Linked DNA regions of Homo sapiens: regions 1 and 2 are each linked to region 3. Evidence: promoter capture Hi-C in 16 types of primary human blood cells and fetal thymus (Javierre and others, 2016). All regions are on one chromosome and are shown on one strand. Each heading gives the region's core, a stretch centred on a gene start or on the middle of the fragment in contact. The rest is flanking DNA. Distances are from core to core; before and after follow the strand shown. Region 1 has its middle 130 kb from the start of FAM124B. Region 2 has its middle 110 kb from the start of FAM124B. Region 3 holds the start of SERPINE2 (serpin family E member 2).

The links. The method cuts DNA at HindIII sites, captures the fragments that hold promoters and counts their contacts. A CHiCAGO score of 5 or more calls a contact.
Region 1: a contact is called between a fragment that was not itself captured here and the fragment with the promoter of SERPINE2 in region 3, in 2 of 17 cell types (endothelial precursors and total CD4 T cells). The highest score is 5.4, in endothelial precursors.
Region 2: a contact is called between a fragment that was not itself captured here and the fragment with the promoter of SERPINE2 in region 3, in 4 of 17 cell types (megakaryocytes, naive B cells, endothelial precursors and 1 more). The highest score is 6.5, in megakaryocytes.

The regions. Positions count from the first base shown.
Region 1 is chr2:224,274,720-224,277,419 of GRCh38, reverse strand. No RefSeq gene overlaps it. Among named protein-coding and RNA genes, the nearest start is that of FAM124B, 130 kb to the left of the region's middle. The HindIII fragment of the contact is 2,209 bases long and covers 147-2,355 here.
Region 2 is chr2:224,292,390-224,295,089 of GRCh38, reverse strand. It overlaps the pseudogene LOC100289117. Among named protein-coding and RNA genes, the nearest start is that of FAM124B, 110 kb to the left of the region's middle. The HindIII fragment of the contact is 2,434 bases long and covers 201-2,634 here.
Region 3 is chr2:224,037,987-224,040,686 of GRCh38, reverse strand. SERPINE2 (serpin family E member 2) reads left to right here and starts at 1,401. Exons shown (of 9, transcript NM_001136528.2): 1 at 1,401-1,588. It overlaps LOC124907991 (a long non-coding RNA gene), which reads right to left and starts at 1,285. Exons shown (of 2, transcript XR_007088103.1): 1 at 1,145-1,285. RefSeq lists a silencer at 941-1,235. The HindIII fragment of the contact is 11,785 bases long and covers 1-2,700 here.

The DNA.
Region 1 (2,700 bases), core at 2-2,501, 240 kb before region 3:
GTTCTCTTTTGTCTTCTCCTGCTTTTAAAATATTTTTCTCTAATTCGCCTCAGTACACACAAAGATTCAAAAAAGAAAAACTTGTAATGTATATTAGCAGTTTTATTTCCCTAAGCTTTTAAGCATCTAAAATCATTCAGGAAGCTTTTTGTTCACCTTGTGTATTTTTGAGTATTTCTCAAGTTGGGAAAGCTAGGATACTAAAATAGATTATTTTTATCGTATTTTAAAAAATTGACAACTAACAGTTCCTTTGAATGTTTATAATAACTTAGGTTAACAAAGTAGTTTTTCTCCCAAGGGTAAAAATAGATTGTGAGAGATTTGAACATTAATTTAAGTGTAAAGAGTTATAATTAGTGGCAGTAAACATGTAGAAAGATAAACATCTAAATTTCTTAAATGTCTATAGAGCTTTTATTTTGGCTTTAGAGGTATTAATAAGTGGCAAATTATTCAAGATGTTACTCCAAATATAATTTAGAAAACTTTTCTTGTCTCTTAATCATGGAACTAATATATTTAGATAGATTCCATTAATTTTTCAAAACATTGTTCAGAAATTAAGTTTTATTTCTTAAAAGCCCTGTCACCATACTCTGGAATTTTCAGCCTGCTGTCACTGTCTATTACCAAAGCATTTCTTTTTGAGGCCCTACAATAACAATTTAAACTCAAGGACTGGCTCCACTTTTTATTTGCTTCTGTCTTGCTTTATTAGTAGTAATTGTCTTTATTCTTTGTGTGCCTGTTATACGCAGGGTATGGCTCATGATGGAGGCTTTAAAACATTTTGAAATGATGAATTTCACAGAGAATTATAGTCATGGAGAAGGTCTTAGTCTGTTTTTGCTGCCTTAACAAAATAACTGAGGTAGCTTACAAACAATAGAAACTTGTTTCTCACAGTTCTGGAGGCTGGGAAGTCCAAGATCCAGGTGACAGTGGACTTGGGTGTCTGGTGAGGGCTTCCTCTCTGCTTCCACAATGGCTCCTTGTTGCTGCATCCTCACATGGCAGAAGGGATGGAGAAGGGACAACCTCACTCCCTCAAGCCCTTTTGGTAAGAGTATTAATCTCATTCATGAGGGTGAACCCTCATGGCTTAATTACCTCCCAAAGGTAATCCCATCACCTTGAGGGTTAGCTTCCAACATATGAATTTTGGAAGGATGCATACATTCAAACCATAGCAGAGGGGCCCCCAGTTTTAATTCCACATATATTTAATTTGGTATTGTAGGTGTTAAAAAATTATCTACACGTGGACACATCGGGGGATCAACACACACTGGGGCCTGTTGTGGGGATGTGGGGGGAGGGGGAGCATCAGGAAGAATAGCTAATAGATGCTGGGCTTAATACCTAGGTGATGAGTTGATCTGTGCAGCAAACCACCATGGCACATGTTTACCTGTGGAGCAAACCTGCAGATCCTGCACATGTACCCTGGAATTTAAAACAAAAGTTGAAGAAGAAAAAAGAAAATGAAAAAAGTATTATCTATGTGTCAGTCAGCCTAGAGTGTGTACTTGAGTAATCATCCTAGCAGGTGACATACTTATTCTTATAATATTGTCATTATTCAAAACATTTACTTTCCTTAGATCTTATTTGGAACTGCCCTAGAGTCAGTTTGCACACTGGAGAACAAAGCTCACCGTTTCACGTTTTGGATCAAAGTGGAATTCTACGGCTCAGTTGCCCACTTTAACTCATCTGACTTGGAGCTAAGTGACTTTTCTTTGTTTTAAAAAAATCATACAAAGGAAAAATTTTATCACTATTAAGGGCAGTGAGCAATGTCTCTAATGGCAATTCAAAAAAGCAGTTTCCAAAAATAACTTGTATATGGCTGAGGCACACTTCTGGGATGAGGGAGCCATCTCTCAAGGATGCTTCTTTGAAAAGACCATACCCACTTGTTATGTGTGCTTTGAAACTAGACAGATTATGTTATATCATACCTCATTCATTTAATTTATCAATCCAGATACACTTCTGTTAGGAGCTTTGGGAGTGTGGTTTGATTTTTTAAAGCATCACACTGTGCCCATGTTCTACATTCCGCAATGCGAAACATGGACTTCAGCTTCTATCTTTCTTTAAGAATTAAGTTCTGTAGATAGGTTACAATGCTACAAGTGGAGAATAAGCAATATAAAGGGCTTAGTGAAATATGAACTTGGGAAAGTGAGCTGTTAGTGTCTGAATGATATTTTAATATGTCAAAATTAAGTTTTGACAAATCAGACTGGAGACATGTCATAGAATTTCATTAGTGCAAGGGCTTTTAGAGATCCTCTAGTTACAATCCCATCATCTTTTGGATTTAAAATATTGATGGCTCAAGCTTACATGACTAAGACTAGAGAAGTAATTTTCAGCCCTCAGAACTAATGCATCAACCTTTGAGCAGAATACCATCCTCCCATCCAAACTGACCCCGTACTGTTAGTTCCCCCATGGTACCCATCGCTGAAATACTTTTTGAAATTGTGCATTCATGAAGACATCTACATTTCTTTAGCTATTTTTTAATATATGATTTTTTATTCTATAAAGAAATTAATATATCTCATATTTGATTAATCTATAGGTGCATTGATTTCTATGTAATGTGTGTATTTGACTTTGCATTTTTTGTATGGCCTGTTTTATTAGTGAGCTAAAAATTGCCCTTTTAAAAATATGGAGTAA
Region 2 (2,700 bases), core at 168-2,667, 250 kb before region 3:
ATCCATCTTCCAGTTGCTTACCAGCAAAGATAAGTCTTTGCTAACCAGGCAGATTTCCTTCCTTATCCTGGATCTTGGCCTTTACATTTTCTATTGTATCTGAAGTTTCAACCTCCAGGGTGATGGTCTTCTCTGTAAGAGTTTTTGTAAAAATCTGCATTTTGATGGTGGTTCCACTGCAGATGGTGTATCGAAAAGCTTGTTTTCTTGTTTATAAACTGTTCATTCCATAAAGTCAAGCAAATCAAATGAAGTTTAAAAAGTACCCCTGAAGGTTATGAAAAATCCAATGTAATGTCAAAGTCTTTTATTCCCATTTAAGTAAGAAGTAAGGATTGCTTTTTACAACCCTGAGAATGTGATTAGTGTCAGTGAAGTGATACCTTTATTATATGAGTCATAATTCTTGGTACTGTTTATCATGACAGTCCAATAATTACTTAAAATTCCACCAACCTCTTTCTAGCTGTGACTCCACAAATGTGATTTTGGATTCTAAGTCATTTAACTTTTGATGGGGAGGTGACATTCTAGTAATGTCATCATGGCTACATTTCTTCATTTGAAACTTAGGTTTGTGTGTGGGTGTTAACAATAATTGATATCCTATAAATAGTTTTAAATCTGGGTTTTCTTAATCTCTCTAAGGAAACAAAATAATTTTCAAATATGGGATAACTTATGTTGAGTGAAATTAAAGCAGTTTGCCATACAGATCATCTTCATGAGGTTGAAAACTCTTGCCAGACTTAATTTCTTGATTTCATTATCCTTCAATCAGTTGTTTAGGGAGGGGGAAAAGAGGATTAACTTCTGAATGTTCTGCACATCCCCCTTTTCCCCCGAATGCTAATGGAAATTCTTCATTGGCCTGGCTCCTTTTTCCTGACCCTTTTGAGACCAATGCGGAAGAGGCTAAGCTGATTTACATAATAAAAGGCTGGGAGCAGAAGGAGAAGAAGCCCTCGTGTTTGGGTTGTAGAAGAGAGTCTAGGATTTGTCTTATACAAGATTTCCAAGCAGGAGCGCAGGGGAATGGAAGCAGAGGCTTTTGAGAAGTTTTTAATTTAGGTTAGGCTCGAATCGCTTTAATCTTTTTTGAGAGGAGTCAATAAAGAATGAAATTTCTTACCACTGACTGTTAAATGATGTGTCTGTAAATTTGACTTAGCCACGAGCATGGAGCCTTCAAAATTGTCCTGTGGCTCACCACCCCACCACTGATCTATTTACAAGTCTTTATTCATTGATCTAGCTTTGAAATCGCGATAGGGTTTTCTATGAGTTATGCTGGTCATGAAACAAACAGTTTTGTTTTAGAAAAATCAATTTGTTTGGCAAAACAAATTTGACATTACCTATGTGAATGTACTTCAGCAAAAGACTACCAGGAATATACCTGTAGTTAAATAAATAAAATTTATTACTCATTGCAGCCAAGGGAACATACATCATAGGGGTAATGGGGCATCTCAGTAAAAAGGTGTTAGAATCTACAATGGAATTTGCACCTTGATGGAGTAATTTGGGGGGAGTCTAAGGAAGTGGGGAGACTTGGGTATCTCAGTAAACCTTATCCACATGGTGGGGAGAAACAGCAGTTATTCATTTTGATTCAAAGGGAGTAGGCTTGGTATTTTGTAGGTGACATGATGACCTTGTTTTTCTCTGTGGTTAGACAAAATTAAGAAATTATGAAGTGGCCTTTCTTGGTCCCTTTTTATCATGGTTTCAGGGTAACCTTGTCTGAGATTGAATTTCTGTGAGATTATTTAGGAGATTATTTACCCAGGAGAAAACATGGAATAGTTGTAAGTGCCAGGCCAGCTTCTAAATGTCAGAGGCAGTTTTTTGTTTTGTTTTGTTTTGTTTTGTTTTGTTTTTGTTTGTTTTTAATTTCTCCATTCCTCTTTTGGCCAAGGACAGATGAAGTCACAGTATAACACATTGACCTATGATATCCAGATTTTCAGCATTGCCAAGTTTTGTTAATTAGCATTAGAATAGTGCTCACTGAACATAATCTAGTGATCCAGGATCAATCTTTCATAGTGCTGTGGGATGAGTTGTTGACATATTGAAGAGACAACGGCTGTATAGTAGCATTTAAAGCTCTGCAGCAGATATATTGGTTAAATGTAGCATAGTCAATTTTAGAAACAAAATATTATTAGTCTTTGTAATAGATCTTGAAACTATGCCCTACCTTATAATAGCAAGGCAAGAAAACATATCCCAGAATCTAGCTGGGTCTGTTTTAGAGAGACAGGTGATTTTTTAAAGAAAGCTCTGTGATAGACTGTTCTGTTTGCTCTGTAGTATTTATATAGGTGGGATAATAGTATTTGCTCTAGTACAAATTCCCCATTGGCCGGCTAAGAGAAAATCAAAGACTTTATGATGGTCTTTGACAATTGTGGTTAATTGATTTAGACCAGAGAGTTGGGCTTTCAGAGCAGAAGTGGTGTCATTTCGTGTCTTCTGACAAGATTAGAGACAAGATCTGGGTCACTTTTTATAATTGTGTTATACCTACTGTGTGAACTGTAGCTATAGAGTACACATGAAGCGTGAATCTGTTATCCTTCTTGGAAGTTGTTTCAAATAACCTGTGCTTGCTGTATTTTGGAAGCTTCTGGTATTATTTTTAAGGAAATATGATTTCCTGGAGGGATGGTAGTTTTAAATATCTGAAAATCT
Region 3 (2,700 bases), core at 152-2,651:
AAACAAGGTAAAAAAAAAATCAATTCATGATGAGGGTTATGAAGGAAGTCATAGGTTAGAGGGGATAAAGTGACTTTATCTCAAGTGGTCAGGGGAGGCTTCCTAGGGGAGAGGACATTTGAGTTGTGACCTCAAGTGTAAGGATGCAGACAACATAGAAGATCCTGGGACAAAAAGCATTTCAGGCACAGAGAATAAGAAAGTTACCCTGTAACTGAATATAAATATTTGGTATGACTGTAAAATAATTAAACAGATGCTCATTTTTGTAGACTGTTTGCTCCTTATTTTAGGACCAAGCCTCCCATAGCCTGTTTCCCTCTATGAGAGACTGAGAACACCCTTAGGCTGGTCCAGATTTTACACTTTTCAGAGCAACCCCTTCCCCAACACACACGTGCACACTCTGGCACGGCCACCTGCATGCCAAGGGGTGACTGCAGGCTGATCTTCCAAGTGGCTCTCATCAGTAGCTGTACCCTTAATCCAGGGCTGTGTATAGGGAGATTTACATTTCTTCCTCGCTGTTGGGGCCGTCTGCCTGCTAGCGACGATTCTACACTAACGGCTACATAAATTACTGTCATTAAAGTTGGGTCCTTGGGTCCCCAGAAACCTAACTAGAGGCAAAGGAGGAACCAACTAAGAGAGGTCCAGGTAACAGAGCCCGGAGCGGGACGGTCATTTGTTGCAGGCCCCTGGGGTATGTGCCTGTCTATCGCGCACCGGGTCCCAGCAGCAGTGGTTACCGGCTGAGAAGGGCTGGGTTCCCAGGACGCTGCGGGTACCTCATGCTATCACCATAGCCGGGAATCCAGTTTTCTGGTTCCCCTCGTCTGTATTTGCCTAAGGCGACTTGCCGCCGTTCCTCTGTCCCCTAGGCAGGGAGAAGTCAGCTCTAGGACACCCTGCAAAACGCCTCGAGGGGTTATCTGCCCCTTCCCGGCCGCGTCCTGGCACCGTTTCCCCATCACCCGGAGGACTGAGCGCTGTCTCAGGGCGCCCTCTGTCTCTTCCAGGGGGCAGCCAAGACGACATGCCCTGCGTCTCAGGGACGCGGTACGAGCCCTGGTATTCCCCCCGCCACCTCACACACCCCCATCCGGGAGACCCACGTGCAGCTGGGCCCGGGCTGGCGCCGCACCTCGGGGTCTGCGCGTCTCCCCGGCGCGTTCCGGGCGCAGCCCCACGACACGGACCCCTGGCGGGGCGGCATCCGAGAAGTCGCAGGCGGAGAGGGGGCGTCCTGGAGGCCGGGCGCGGGGACGCTGCGGCCCGCGGCCACACAAAGGAGGCGGCGGGAAGGCGGGGCAAGGCGGGCCGGGGGCGGGGGCGGCAGGAAGGGGCGGGGGCCCGCGCGGCGCCGCCGATAAAGCCCCCGCCGCCGCGGCAGCCAGCTTGCGCTGTGGGGCTGCCCGGGCTGCGCGGCGTCTGCAGGCGCCACCGCTGCCTCTTTCCGGCTGTGACCCTCCTCGCCGCCGCCGCTTGGCTGCGTCCTCCGACTCCCCGCGCCGCCGAGACCAGGCTCCCGCTCCGGTTGCGGCCGCACCGCCCTCCGCGGCCGCCCCCTGGGGATCCAGCGAGCGCGGTGAGTACAGGCTGCGCGGTGAGTCCCGGGCGCGGCCGGCGCTGCCCTCGGCGGGGGACGCTCCCCGGGGCTCCGCGCGCCACCGGCCCTGCTCCCTGACCTTGCGCCCGGCCGGGAAGCTGCGGGGCCAGCGGGACCCTGGGGCGCCGACGTCGGGGAGCAGAGAACTTTCTCAGCCTCCCGCGGGCCGCCTTGGCCGGGGCTGGGTGCTCGCCGGGCATCCCGGTCCCGCCCGCCGGGAGCCCCGAGCGGGACCCGGGCAGGGCAAGGCGGGGCCGCCCCGGGGTGGCGTCCAGTGATACCCGCAGCTGGGAGCACCGGGGCCGGCGTGGCTCCTGCCCGGCCATCCGAGCCGGCCCTGACCCTGAACCTGAGGTTTCCAGCTGCTCGCCGGCAACCCCTACCCCGGACTTAGGCTGCGCGCCGCCGGATGGGGAGAGACTGGCGCACTCTTACTTGTTACCTCTGCCTGGGCAGAGGGAGGTGACGCGCGGTGTGGGGAAAGCCTTTAACTTGGCCTCTGGCAGCCGATTTAACCCGAGCGAGCAGGTCTTTGCTATTTTCATCATCTGTAGAAACGGGAGTTGCGAGGCGGATGAGTGACTGCAGGTAAAATGAAAGTACGGTACTCAGAAATTCTGGAAGGAATTAGGCATTTAATGTGTCCACAAACTGAGCGGGGAAGGAAGGCTTCTATTACATAAGACAGCACTCCACCTTCAGGTATTATGGAAGATGCTGTTGAAGGTTTTAGTGTTTTAATGAACGAAACACATTCTTTGTGTGTGTGTCTCTGGAGAAATCTCGAATGCTGCTGTCTTGCTTTGGCTACTTTGCAGGGGACGTTCTTATATTTAGCATCAGCATAAAAAGGTGTTCGAAGGTGTGACTTCCTCTTTCAAGCCAAGAAGCCGTTTATTTGTCTGAATTGTTGTGGAACAATATATGTGATAATTGTGTACTTTGAAGATTTTATATCAAAACTTGAGCACAGATAACTGGAAGAATTGTCAACATTGCTAATTTGTATATCCTAAACCACACTTCGAAAATTGAAGACAGTTTCAACACTATCTGAAGGTCTAAATCAGTACTTATTTGCTATTTGCAGT